Linked DNA regions of Homo sapiens: all the other regions are linked to region 3. Evidence: promoter capture Hi-C in human tissues and cell types (Jung and others, 2019). All regions are on one chromosome and are shown on one strand. The core of a region is centred on a gene start or on the middle of the fragment in contact, and the rest is flanking DNA. Distances in the headings are between cores, read along the strand shown.

Evidence for each region. Contacts are between HindIII fragments. The study calls those that stand out against the background at their distance.
Region 1: a fragment that was not itself captured here is called in contact with the fragment with the promoter of SLCO3A1 in region 3 in 2 of the 25 tissues and cell types used here (hippocampus and thymus).
Region 2: a fragment that was not itself captured here is called in contact with the fragment with the promoter of SLCO3A1 in region 3 in 2 of the 25 tissues and cell types used here (mesendoderm cells and thymus).
Region 4: a fragment that was not itself captured here is called in contact with the fragment with the promoter of SLCO3A1 in region 3 in 1 of the 25 tissues and cell types used here (dorsolateral prefrontal cortex).
Region 5: a fragment that was not itself captured here is called in contact with the fragment with the promoter of SLCO3A1 in region 3 in 2 of the 25 tissues and cell types used here (bladder and mesendoderm cells).

What each region holds. Positions count from the first base shown.
Region 1 is chr15:91,573,339-91,576,038 of GRCh38, reverse strand. No RefSeq gene overlaps it. Among named protein-coding and RNA genes, the nearest start is that of CRAT37, 110 kb to the right of the region's middle. The HindIII fragment of the contact is 7,693 bases long and covers 1-2,700 here.
Region 2 is chr15:91,343,854-91,346,726 of GRCh38, reverse strand. No RefSeq gene overlaps it. Among named protein-coding and RNA genes, the nearest start is that of CRAT37, 120 kb to the left of the region's middle. The HindIII fragment of the contact is 7,776 bases long and covers 1-2,873 here.
Region 3 is chr15:91,852,195-91,854,974 of GRCh38, reverse strand. It overlaps SLCO3A1 (solute carrier organic anion transporter family member 3A1), which reads right to left and starts at 1,267. Exons shown (of 10, transcript NM_013272.4): 1 at 887-1,267. The coding sequence starts at 1,066. RefSeq lists silencers at 1,663-1,802, 1,671-1,845. The HindIII fragment of the contact is 13,420 bases long and covers 1-2,780 here.
Region 4 is chr15:91,397,810-91,400,699 of GRCh38, reverse strand. No RefSeq gene overlaps it. Among named protein-coding and RNA genes, the nearest start is that of CRAT37, 64 kb to the left of the region's middle. The HindIII fragment of the contact is 5,816 bases long and covers 1-2,890 here.
Region 5 is chr15:91,452,078-91,454,777 of GRCh38, reverse strand. All of the region lies in intron 2 of LOC107984778 (a long non-coding RNA gene), which reads left to right. Among named protein-coding and RNA genes, the nearest start is that of CRAT37, 9.9 kb to the left of the region's middle. The HindIII fragment of the contact is 7,286 bases long and covers 1-2,700 here.

The DNA of each region.
Region 1 (2,700 bases), core at 85-2,584, 280 kb after region 3:
TTTTTAAAGGTGTGAAAAACAATTCAGAAGAATCAGAAATTTAGGGCTAGAGGTGACCATGAGAATGCAAGGCCATGGTATCCAGAAACATTTTGGAAAGGGCATTGGGCTTTTGTAAGGCAAGAGGATGGGCCATCTTATTCAGATCTGTAGAGAAAAGGAGACCTTTTTTGGAGAGAGATGGATCAAGGTGGAGGTGGAGGTAGGGCGACCACATAATCTGGTTTTCCTAGAATAATTTCAGTTTATCTCTGTCGTCCTGAGGTCTTGTCTATTTTTGTGTTTGCCCAGACTTCATTTTCTCATAAAGTATTATTATTAACAGTTACAGCAACATAAGCTGGGTGGATTTAATAGATTTTTCACTTTGTATCTTCACCTTCACTCATGGCTTCTAGTATGTGGGACACAAATGCAAATAATTAAATCTACATATTTTTCCAGCTGCAACAAACTTGAACCTTTAGGATCAATTGAAGATTCTATTTTAAGAAGACTGTACCTGCAGACAAGTTATTACCATGTGCCACTCTGCACACAGTGTATTTACATATCACACTGAAGCATGATTTCTCATTCAGATCAAACAAAATAATCACATTTAGCTTAGACACTTCTGAAATAATTTTTCTTACTTTTATTCCAACTTTTCTTGTGCCTATAAAAAAGTAAAGCAACAGCTGTTAATGTGTTAATACCATTAATAGAAGAAGACCTTTGCAAGCATGAGATGCTTCAAATAGAAAATGAGTTGGGGTGAGTCCTTAAGCGGTTCAATTTTTCCACCTAATTTATGAAATTGTAACAAAGCTTTTTGAAATGCATCCTATCAAAAGTGAATCATTTTAAATTCTCGTAAGTGCATTGTAAAGTCAATTTTAAAATTAAACATTGATGGAAAAGTTGTTGGTTTTTGAGATAATACTACAAATACAAATTTTGGTGGTGGAAAGCATTATTAAAAATATTGTTCTACATGAAGGCACCAATGAACAGAAATATTCTGGAATTGGTTGTGATTAAAGTAATGCATAATCATTTCAAAGTAAGCAGTGATATTCTATCAATCAAAAATAAGATGGAGTTCACAAAATTTATACATACAGTTGTCTCTCAGTATCCACAGATGATTGGTTCCAGGATCCCCTGCAGATACCAAAATCTACAGATGCTTAAGTCATTTATATAAAATGCCCTAACATTTGAGTATAATCTATGTACATCCTCCTATACATACTTACATCATCTGCAGATTACTTTACTATGTGATACAATGTAAATAGTTGTTGCACTGTATTGTTTTCAAATGTATATTATTTTTATTGTTGCATTGTTATTTTTTTTTGAATATTTCTGATCTACTGCTGGTTGAATCCATGGATGCGGAGCCTGCTGCTAGGGTCAACTGTATCATACATATACTCAGGGTAAATAAACTACAGAATTTAGAGGATGAGCTGATGATGAATTTAAAATATTTCAGCATTGTAGTTGTGCCTTTGCTCTTTGACACTCATCTTAAATCAGATTTTAGAAATGTTTGAACCATTAGAGATCTATTTTTTAAATCAAACTAGGTAATCTAAAATATTAGGAAGCATATTGTAAATGAGTTCCTTAATTTTTTTAATATTTATTTATTTATTTACTGAGACAGGGTCTCCTTTCAACATCCAGGCTGGAGTGCAGTGGTGCAATTATGGCTCACTGCAGCCTTGACCTCCTGGGCTCAAGTGATCCTCCCACCTCAGCCCCCAGAGTAACTGGGACTACAGGCATGCACTACCACGCCTGGGTAATTTTTGTATTTTTTGTAGAAATGGGTTTTGCCATGTTGTTCAGGCTGGTCTCGAACTCCTGAGCTCAAGCAATCCTCCTGCCTCAGCCTCCCAAAGTGCTGGGGTTACAGGAATGAGCCACCACACCTGTCTGAGTTCCTTAATTTTGTTTGCGTTTTTGGTCAAGGCTTACAACTTGCTTATTAGGTTCACTTCAGGCGACCATGCTATGCCGACCAATCCAAAAAGCTGTTAAGCCCTAAGCTATGCCCAGTCCCAACCAGTTCCTCATCTTGCAGATCTTCCTTAAAACTGTTCAGCCCAGGCTCTAAACTTCTGTAAGTATTCTCCCGTAATTTCTCCTGTTTGAGACACCACTAGGAGTATTGTGGTGACATTCTCCGTCACTGCACAAGGTCCAATATCCTCAACTTTACCTGATCAGCAGGTTTCATTCGCCATCTTAAGTCAAACCTGCCTTTCTTGTATTGTACTGACTTTATCTCTCTCCACCTGGTCTAGTGTCATCAGTTTGGCCTGCATGTTTTTCCTTCTTTTATGAAAAGCGTTTTTCCTCAAAATTAGCTTCACTACTTTTCCCACTGCTCTGCAATATCAACCATACTGCCAACAGAGTTTTCTTTCATCTTTATCCTTTCTAGGGCAGATGAAGGGCTTTATTTAAAGAAAAGGGCTTAGGATCTACTAGAGAATGAAGTCAGGGAAATGCAGAACTCTTTGACCTCTTTCTTTCTTTCTCTCTCTCTCTTTTCTTTCTCTCTTTCTTCCCCTTCCTTCCTCCCTTCCTCCCTCCTTCTTTCTCTTCCTTCCTTCCTCCCTCCTTTTCCTTCCTTCCTTCCTTTCCTTCTTTCTTTCCTTCTTTCCTTCCTTCTTTCTCGAGACAGAGTCTCACTCCGTCACC
Region 2 (2,873 bases), core at 258-2,757, 510 kb after region 3:
TAGAGAGGGTATGATATGGTTCCCAAGATGAGTCTGACATTATTGTTTTATACTTATGGTGCTTTTGAGACAAGAGTGCTTTGCATTTTTAAATTAGTTTATCTTAAAAATGCCAGTAGTCATGGGAAAAGAAAGGAGAGACCATTCTGAGAAAGAGAAAGAAGTGAGCAATCATCACATCCAAAACCCTGACGTCAGACACTTTAGAAATTGTGTGCATTGGAGCTGGGTGTTGCTGCAGATACATTGGCAGCTAGTTGTGAAGGTTTGAGGCCAAGTGATGTACTTGCAAGCACAGCTAGTTTCAAACTGCACCAATAATAGTTATGACTGAAAACAGGTGCTATTCTGTCCCAGCACTGTGTTAAGCACTATAAACACATTGTCACAGTAATCTCTCCAATAATCTTATGGAAGATGGCTCTGCTCTCCCTTTTTTTAACCAATAATTGGAACGATGTTACTTCCCTAAGTTTTCAGAGGCAGAGGCAATGCTACATAAAAATATGCTTGTTTACATGAATTAAATCATTTGGTAGAAACAAGAGATTCAGCCACTAATCAGAGCACAGAATTTGAGAGAGAATATAGGACAAAAGAGAACAGAAGGGTCTTGTTGTTATTGGCCAACATCAAAGCACTATCACCCCGTCTTTTTTAGTTATGCAAACCACTCAACAGAATACCTGTGAGCTTTACTTTTGGGCAGTATGCTGGGAGCTCAAACCACTTCTTGATGTGGCTGACATTCCTTAACAATGGGTCTCTCTTGCGTCCAATTATATGGCCACACCCATTTGGGGAAGACAGTGATGATGTGATGGAGTACTCACAGGGTGTGGCATCACAAAGCCTGAGTTTGCATTCAGCTAATAAATGTGCCCAGGGACAAGGACTTCATGACTAAAACACCAAAATCAATGGTAACAAAAGCCAAAATAGACAAACGGGATCGAATTAAACTAAAGAGCTTCTGCACAGCGAAAGAAACCACCATCAGAGTGAACAGGCAACCTACAGAATGAGAGAAAATTTTTACAATCTACCCATCTGACAAAGGGCTAATATCCAGAATCTACAAAGAACTTAAACAAATTTACAAGAATAAATCAAACAACCCCATAAAAAGTGGGCGAAGTATATGAACAAACACTTCTCAAAAGAAGACATTTATGCAGCCAACAGACACGCGAAAAAATGCTCATCATCACCGTCCGTCAGAGAAATGCAAATCAAAACCACAATGAGATACCATCTCACACCAGTTAGAATGGCGATCATTAAAAAGTCGGCAAACAACAGGTGATGCAGAGGATGTGGAGAAATAGGAACACTTTTACACTGTTGGTGGGACTGTAAACTAGTTCAACCACTGTGGAAGATTCCTCAAGGATCTAGAACTAGAAATACCGTTTGACCCAGCAATCCCATTACTGGGTATATACCCAAAGGATTATAAATCATGCTGCTATAAAGACACATGCACACGTATGTTTATTGTGGCACTATTCACCATACCAAAGACTTGGAAGCAACCCAAATGTCCATCAGTGATAGACTGGATTAAGAAAATGTGGCACATAAACACCATGGAATACTATGCAGCCATGAAAAAGGATGAGTTCATGTCCTTTGTAGGGATGTGGATGAAGCTGCAAACCATCATTCTGAGCAAACTATCACAAGGACAGAAAAACAAACACCACATATTCTCGCTCATAGGTGGGAATTGAACAATGAGAACATTTGAACACAGGGTGGGGAACATTAAACACCGGGGCCTGTCATGAGGTGGGGGAGGTGGGTGGGAAGCATTAGGAGAAATACCTAATGTAAATGACGAGTTAATGGGTGCAGCACACCAACATGGCACATGTATACATGTGTAACAAACCTGCATGTTGTGCACATGTACCCCAGAACTTAAAGTATAATGAAAAAATAAAAATAAAGAAATAAATGTGCCCAGGGAACTTAGGGAAAGCAATTAACTTTTCTGATGCTGTATCCTCTTCTATAAAATAGGGCGAATGCTACTTACTTTATAGGACTCATAACCTTCAGTGATTATTATTGGCGTTAATATGTTAACATGATCTCCCTAGCAAGAGCAGTAGAGCTGGTAAGTGGCAGAGCCAGGGTACAAATTCAGGACTAACTCTCCTCCTCTTCATCCATCCCTATTTACCTCTCAAAAGAAGCCAGATATGCTTGGAACATGGATAAGCAATGCCTTCATGGAGTCATATCTCCAGTTATCTACCAGCCCAGTGACCTCCTGTGTGACATTTCAACCCTGACATCTCAAAGTCTCCAGAAAGCAATTCCAGCAGAGACGTGATTGATTCACTGCATCCTCCATCACATTATCTCATACTGAGGACTGTCTGGGTCACCCAGAAAACTTCTATCAGCAAAGACAGATTCAATCAAAAATGAAAACTGAGGCTTAATTCAGCCTGAGGATGAAAATGCACAAACAAAATAATACTTGTGAAAATTACTTTACCGTGCTGTGCAAATATTAGGTGTTGTCCTGAGAGGGAAATAACTCTTTATTCTTTCCCCCAGAGAAATTCCCAGCCTCAAGTAGTGTTTAGTTTTTAGCTCTTATTCAAAAAAATTGCAAATAATGCATGAATCATCAGAGCATTTGCTTTCTGCAGGGTCATTTTTTTCTGTTTCTCCTCTTTCCACTGGCAATGAGGCCTTTTGAAGACTGGCAATTTCCTGATCAGTTGGTTCACTCCTTCATGCCCAGTCAGAAGTTCTTTAGAAAGCAGTGAAACGTGTCTTCTTTCAGTACCTTGAGAAAGGAAAGCTGACATGAGATAACTCAAAATCACAGGCAACTCACTTAACACTTTTATGTC
Region 3 (2,780 bases), core at 18-2,517:
AGTTGCGACCACCTGAGCAGAGGAGGCGAAAGCGACAAAGTAGGTACCTGACAGTGCTGAGTCATTACAAGCTGTTTCCTCTGAAATGTTACGCACCCATGGGCCCTCTGAGCATTAACATCCCCTTTCTGGAGGCAAATAAAATACATATTCATTGTGGAAAATGGTGCAACCTTCTGTAGGCGACAGACCACGATGGGGAATTTAGCACTAAGAGTGGATAGCAGGAACTACACAAACTCGCAGCTGCTCTCTAGGTACCGTAACTTTATCCCAGACGCTCAAAGAGGGCTATAGGGATACCGGGTGGCAATATTCCCCCTGCAGCCCCGGCTCAGGCCAGGGCCACACTAGGGCGCATTTCACTCTAAGCTGTTATATCCCCCTGTAATTGGCGGATGTAGAAAGCGCCCGGAGAAAATGATGCATAATAGATTTGTTCTCGAGGAGGATGCAATGGAGAGTAGAGGACGCAGGATGCTAACTGGTTTTTCTTCCCATGTGCAGGTCACCTGAAAACCCCGACGCTTTTTCGTTCCTCTCCAAGGAGAACCCTGAACTCACCGTCTCGCTCCGCTCTTATGGGGGGAGAGGAATAGTTTCACGCCCACCTGCCCGCCGCCTCTCCTCCCCCGGCACCCCCTGCCCCAGCCGGACGCGCGCGAGCTGCTACCGGCATCAACGGTCCCGCCCGCTACCCGCTCGCTGGCAGCCCCGGCCGGCAGCTCCCCCGGCGGCCGCCTCTGCACCACTCGCCAACCTCCACGCCGGGCCGAGGTCATGCCCGCCTGCCCCCAGCGCCGGGCGGCCCCCTCGTCGGGCCAGGCGGCCGCTCGAGAGCCGGGCTGGGGAAGGGGCCCGCGGCGGAGTTGGCTCGGGGACTCACCAGGTAGGCGCCCACCGTGCCCTGCGCCAGCATCAGGGCGCACTCGGACACCAGGAAGATCTTGATGTTGGAAAAGCAGGACACCTTCTTTTTCTTTTTCTTGTTCCTCTGCGCCTCGTCCCCCTGCAGCTCGCCGCTCCGGCCGCCGCCCGACGAACCGCCCGGCTTCTTCCCCTGCATCCTTCCCCCGCCGCCGCCGCCGCCGCCGCCGCTGCCGCTTTCCCGCTCGCCCCGGGTGTCGGGGCCGCTGCCGGGCGGGGGTGCGCGCCTCGAGGCTGCGTGCTGTCCCCGCCCCGGGTTCGCGGCGGCCGCCCCCGTCCTGCCGGGGCTGGAGAGGTGGAAGGCACAGCTCCTCGCCGCCGCCGCCGCCGCCGCGATCGCCCCTTCCTCCTCCTCCTCCCCCGCCTCCGCCCTCCCCTGGCCTCCTCCTCCGGCTCCGGCTGTGCCAATCACAGGGGCTCGTCGCGCCGCCCGCCGCCGCCGCTGCCTCGCCTCCCGCGGCCGCCCGCCGCTGCCATCGCCCGGTTCCCCTTGCCCGCCGGCCGCGCCTGCTCTCACCCCCTCAGCCCCAGCCCCAAGGCCTGGGCCTGGGCCGCCGCTGCGCGCCCTCGCCGAGCCGCTCCTCGCTGCCGGTGCGCCCCCGGGGAGGCACGGGAGGCGGGCTTGGGATGCGGAGGGCGGCCCGGCGGCCGAGGCTGGGAGGGTCCGGCTGCCGGGAGAACTGGGGAGACCCGGAGTCCTTGCGGAGTAAGGGGGGTGCCCCTGAGGGCGGGAGGCGGCGCCCGGCCCCTAGGTGGCGCTGCGGGGCACGGGGCCCCGCGGCGGAGACTGGCGGCTCTGCGCCGGGCGCGGAGATGGGGTGCGGAGGCGCCCCCGCGGGGCTGGGACCCGGCGCTCGGGAACCCGGGTGCCCAGGCCTCAGAGGGCAGGCTGTTCCCAGGAAGGGAGAATACTGAGTACCCAGGAAGGGCTTGGCGCGCGCTCTTCTCCGCCCGGGGATTTCTGGGGACAGATGTTGTGCTCTGGGTCTTGGGGAGGTGCCAGAGGTCAGAGCTGCTTGAGGCTTCTGCCGCCTGCCGGTTTCTGCCCCAGCTGTCCCCGGCCACAGGGGGTGTTGAAAAGGCCCCAGACCGAAAGGACAGAAAGGGGAAGTTAGAGGAATACGTCGGGAGCCCCACGGACCGTTAGTGCCCCAGCCTCGGTGTCCAGGCGCTGCAAGATCGCCGCGGCCCCAGCAGAGGGCCTTCTCCGGCCCTTCATCCGCCCAGGGCCCCGCTGCTGGAGCGCTCAGCAAGCGGCCAGCCGCAGGCCTGCTGGGTCCCCACCCGTCCCCTGGCTCTGTGGCCCTGGCCACCATCCTCGGCCTTGACCTGAATGCCTGGCCCATGGCAGCCGCTCCTAATTACTCCCCACTCTCACCGTTACCAAGGAGTGTGGGCCACAGGGCACTACCAATAGGATCTGCTAGTTCTCAACTGCAGCGTTTGGAAGCTGAGAGAAAAGCTCAGAGGGCTGGACAGGTACCAGGAAACAGCACCTTCCACCTGGGCCATTGGGGGACTCAAGGAATCATTTAAAACGGTTTCCTTAATAATTGTGTCAAAGAAAATGACCCACTCTCCCAAGCGCCTGTGTCCAAATGCAGGCTCAACTTCAAAACTGAATAGCAATGAACCCGACCATATTTTTCCTTTCTCCCGAAGAACTTGAATGAGAATGGAGGGTGTAATGGTGGGGATGTTGTTTTGCCATGGCATTTAAATATAAACTGCTTCATCCTTCTGTGGCTCCAGACGTGATCTCACCCAGGCTTGGTGTCGCTTTGAGATGCCCTCACCTTGTCTAGGCCACCTCCTATCTGAATTGGCTCCCCCCACACTTGAAGTCTCTTCCC
Region 4 (2,890 bases), core at 60-2,559, 450 kb after region 3:
AACTTCAACAACCAAGCCAAGGGTCTGATAATTTTCAACAATATGTTATTCAAGAAAGTGCAGCAAAAAATATTTTTAAGTTAACGGAGGAGAATGACATGAGCAAAATGGCAAAACAGAAGTTTTCAGCACTTATCCCTTCACAGAAACATCAATTTGAACAGCCATCTGTGCATGAAAATATCTTCATAAGAGACAAGGAATCCAGCTGAGAGGTTATAGCACCTTTGTGGAGCAGAGAAATAAGAAAAGGTGCATTAAAGAGAGTAGAAAAGACAGTTTCATATTATCTGCATTACCCTGCCCCAAAACCTGGGCAGTGCAACATGGAAAGAGATACTATATATGTGGGGGAAGGAGAGTAAAGTTAACACCTGACTTCATGGACTCCAATGCCAGGCACGATTCAGTGAACTCAACACCAGGCAGGTTCCTATAGCCACAGGCTACAGGACAGTCCCTGTAAACCCAAGCTCCAGGCTGTCCCCTTACGGCTCTAAGACCCAATGGCTCCAACCTCCATAGCTCTTATGAACATAGGCTCCAGGCCTTCCCCAGAACCAGGCCATTTATGGCTGCCCTAGGCTCCACGCTGGTCACTATAGACTCAGGCTCTGGGCCTGTTTTCATGGACTCAGCACCAGGCCCACCACAGTGAACCCCAGCATGAAGTCAGTATCCACGGCTCCAGGCTCCAGACCCATCTCAGCACCAGGCCACCCACTGCAGCCCAGGATCCAAACTCACTTCAACACCTGGCTGGTCCCTATAGCCCCAGCCAGGCCCCAGGCCAACCCCAATGCCAGGCTGGCCCTCATGGCCCCAGCTCCCAGGGCCACCCACACAGACTCAGGTTCCAGGCCTGTCCCCATGGATCCAGTCATCAGGCCCACCTCAAGAGTCCCCAGTGCCGTACCAGACCTCATGGACCCAGAACCCAGGCCTATACCCATGGACCCAAGCTCTAGACACAACCCCACAGACTCAGGTAACAGATCAGACCCTGTGGACCTAGGCACCAGACCAACATGTACAAGGACTTCAGCAGCAAGTTCACCCATGAACCCTGCTAGCTGAACCACCCAGAATCTCTGGATGTGCTGACTGGTGAAGGGCTTTCCCTGCCAAAAGCAATCTGTCAAGAATGAAAAAGCTGGCTCTTTTTCAAATGTACAGACATCATTACGAGGCTATAAGGACCACAATTAATCAGAGAAACATGACGCTATCAAAGGAACAAAATTAAGCACCAGTAACCAACCCTAAAAAAATAAAGATGTATGAACTGCCTAACAAATAATTCAAAATAATCATCTCAAAAAAGTTCAGTGAGCTATAATACAGGTAGACAACTACATGAAGCCAGAAAAACAATACATAAACAAAATTAAAAATTCAACAAAAATATAGGAACCATTAAAAAAAATAGAAATTCTGGAGCTGAAGAACACAATGGATGAACTTAAAAATTCCACATAGAGCTTCAACTTCAGACTCAACCAATAAGAAGGAAGAATCAATGAACTCAATGATAAGTCACTCGAAAGTACTCGGTCAGAGAAATAATAAGGAAAAAACTTAAAAATTGAAGAAATAATATAGAAATATAGTACACTACTATGCAAAGCAATATACTCATTATAGAAGTTCCAGAAGGAGCAGAGAAAGGAACTTCTCTAATGAATATAAAACTTTTCAAATCTAAAGAGGGAAATAAACATACAGATCCGTGAAGCCCAAAGAACCCTAAATAAATTAAACATAAAATAGTTTTTGCCAAGACATATTATATAATCAAATTCTCAAAATAGACAAAGAATTTTGAAAGCAGCAAGAGAAAAGTGACTCATCACATAAAAGGAAAGCCCTCATAAGATTATCAGTGGATTTTGCAGCTGAAACCTTGCATCCAGGAGAAATTGGAATAATGTATATTAAAATAGTGAAAGAAAAAAAATAATACTATGCCCAGTAAAGCTGGCCTTCAGAAACAAAGGAGAGATAAGGACTTTCTCAGACAAACAAAAGCTGATGTAGTTTGTTAACACTAGACCTGCTTTATGAGAAATGTTAAAAAGGGTTCTTAAAGTTGAAACAAAAGGATGCTAACAACACAAAAGCATATAAAAATATAATACTCACTGTAAAGATAAGAATATACTCAAATTCATAATACTCTGATATGGTAATGGTGATATATAAATCCCTTCTAAGACTAGTATAAAAGTTAAAAGACAGTCACAAAAAAAATACAGCTACAATAGTTTGTTAATGAATACACTATATAAAAAGATGTAAATTGTGACCTCGGTAACATAAAATGTGGAAGGAGGAAAAGTTAACATGTAGATTTTTTATATGTAGTTGAAGTTAAGTTGTTATGAGTTTAAAATAGATTGTTGTAACTATAAGATGTTTTATGTAAGCTTTATGGTAAGCACAAAGGAAAAAGCCTGTAGTAGAAACACAAAACATAAAGAGAAATAACTCAAAGCATACCATCACAAAAAAAATTATCAAATCAGAAAGGAAGACCAGCAAGAGAGGAGTAACAGGACAAAGAAACTACAAAATAGTAAGAAAACAATTAACAAAATGGAAACAGTATACTTTAAGTATAAATGGGTTACTTTACCCAATCAAAAGACGTAGAATGGCTGAATGAATTTAAAAACAATAAGATCCAACTATACACTACCTACAAGAAACTCACTTTAGCTTTAAAGGGCACACAAAGGCTGAAAGTAAAGGGCTGAGAAAAGGTTCTTTGCAAATGGTAACAAAAAGAGAACAAGAGCAGTTATGTCATACAGATAGACTTTAAATCAAAAATTGTCACAAGAGACACAGAAGTGATTATAAAGGGGTCAATTCATCAGGAGAATTTAAC
Region 5 (2,700 bases), core at 72-2,571, 400 kb after region 3:
TCATAAATGCAGGAAAGATACAGTCTTTTTCAGAGAAACAAATGCGGAGAGAATTTGCCACTACACCAAGCCAGCACTACAAGAATGCTAAAAGGAGCTCTAAATCTTGAAACAAATCCTGGAAACACATCAAAACAGTACCTCTTTAAAGCATAAATCACACAGGACCTATAAAACAAAAATACAATTAAAGATTAAAAAAAAAGTATACAGGCAACAAATAGCATGATGAATGGAATAGTGCCTCACATCTCAATACTAACATTGAATATAAATGGCCTAAATGCACCACTTAAAAGATAACAGAATTGCAGAATGAATAAGAATTCACCAACCATCTGCTGCCTTCAAGAGACTCACCTAACACTTAAGGACTCACATAAACTTAAAGGGGTGGAAAAAGATATTCCATACAAATGCACACCAAAAGCAAGCAGGGGTAGCTATTCTTATATCAGGCAAAGCAAACTTTAAAGCAACAGCAGTTAAAAAAGACAAAGAAGGACATCATTATGTAATGATACAAGGCCTTGTCCAACAGGAAAATATCACAATCCTAAATATATATGCATCTAACACTGAAGCTCCCAAATTTACTACTAGACCTAAGGAATGAAATAGACAGCAACAAAATAATAGTGGGGGACTTCAATACTCCACTGACAGCACTAGACAGGTCATCAAGACAGAAAGTCAACAAAAAAAATGGATTTAAACTATACCCTGGAATAAATGAACTTAACATATTTACAGAACATTCTACCCACAAACCTCAGAATATACATTCTACTCATCAGCTCATGGGACTTTCTCCAAGATAGACCATATGATAGGCTATAAAAAAGCCTCAATAAATTTAATAAAATTGAAATTATATCAAGCACTCTCTCAGACCACAGTGGAATAAAACCGGAAATCAACTCTAAAAGGAACTTTCAAAACCATGCAAATACATGGAAATTAAATAATCTGCTCCTGAATGATCGATCATTGGGTCAACAATGAAATCAAGATGGAAATTAAAAATCTCTTCAAACTAAATTACAATAGTGACATAACGTATCAAAACATCTGGGATATAGCAAAGGTGTAAGAGGAAAGTTCATAGCCCTAAATGCATACATCAAAAAGTCTGAAAGAGCACAAACAGACAATCTAAGGTCACACCTCGAGGAGCTAGAGAAAAAAGAACAAACCAAACCCAAGCCCAGCAGAAGAAAGGAAATAAGATCAGAGCAGAACTAAATGAAATGGAAACAAACAAAAAAAAATACGAAAGTGAAACAAAAAGCTGGTTTTTTGAAAAGATAAATAAAATTGATAGACCATTAGCAAGATTAACCAAGAAAAGAAGAGAGAAAATCCAAATAAGCTCAACTAGAGACAAAACAGGAGATACTGCAACTGACCACAGAAATACAAAAGATCATTCAAGTGTACTATAAACACCTTTATGTACAAAAACTAGAAAACCTAGATGAGACGGATAAATTCCTGGAAAGATACTAACCTCCTAGCTTAAATCAGAAAGAATTAGATACCCTGAACAGACCAATAATAAGCAGTGAGATTGAAATGGTAATTTAAAAATTAACAACAACAACAACAAGAAAAATCCAGGACCAGATGGTTTCAAAGCTGAATTCTACCAGACATTCGAAGAAGAATTGGTACCAATCCTATTGACACTATTCCACAAGACAAAGAGGGAATCCTCCCTAAATCATTCTATGAAGCCGCTATCACCCTAATACAAAAACCAGGAAAGGCATAAACAAAAAAGAAAACTACAGACCAATATCCCTGTTGAACATAGATGCAAAAATCCTTAACAAAATACTAGCTAACCTAATCCAACAACATATCAAAAAGATAATCCACCATGACCAAGTGGGTTTTATACCAGAGATGCAGGAATGATTTAACATATACAAATCAATAAATGTGATACACCACATAAACAGAATTAAAAACAAAAATCACATGATCATCTCAATAGACACAGCAAATTAAACAAAATCCAGCATCCCTTTATGATTTAAACTCTCAGCAAAATCGGCATACAAGAGGCATAACTCAATGTAATAAAAGCCATCTATGACAAACCCACAGCCAACATAATACTAAATGGGGAAAAGTTCAAAGCATTCACTCTGAGAACTGGAACAAGACAAGGATGCCCAATCTCACTACTTCTCTTCAACATAAGTACTTGAAGTTCTAAAAAGAGCAATCAGACAAGAGAAAGAAATAAAGTGCATCCAAATCAGTAAAGAGGAAGTCAAACTGTCTCTGCTGATGGTATGATTGTATACCTAGAAAACCCTAAAGACTCCTCCAAAAAGCTCCTAGAACTCCAGCAAAGTTTCTGGATACAAAATTAATGTACACAAATCAGCAGCTGTCCTGTACACCAATAGCGACCAAGCTGAGAATCAAACCAAGAACTCAACCCCTTTTACAATAGCGGCAAAAAAAAACAAAACAACAACAACAAAAACTTGGGAATACACCTAACCAAGGAGGTGAAAGACCTCTACAAAGAAAACTACAAAACCCTGCTGAAAGAAATCAGAGACAGCACAAACAAATGGAAACATGTCCCTTGTTCATGGATAGGTAGAATCAATATTGTGAAAATGACCATACTGACAAAAGCAATCTACAAATTTAATGGAATTCCCATCACAATACCACCTT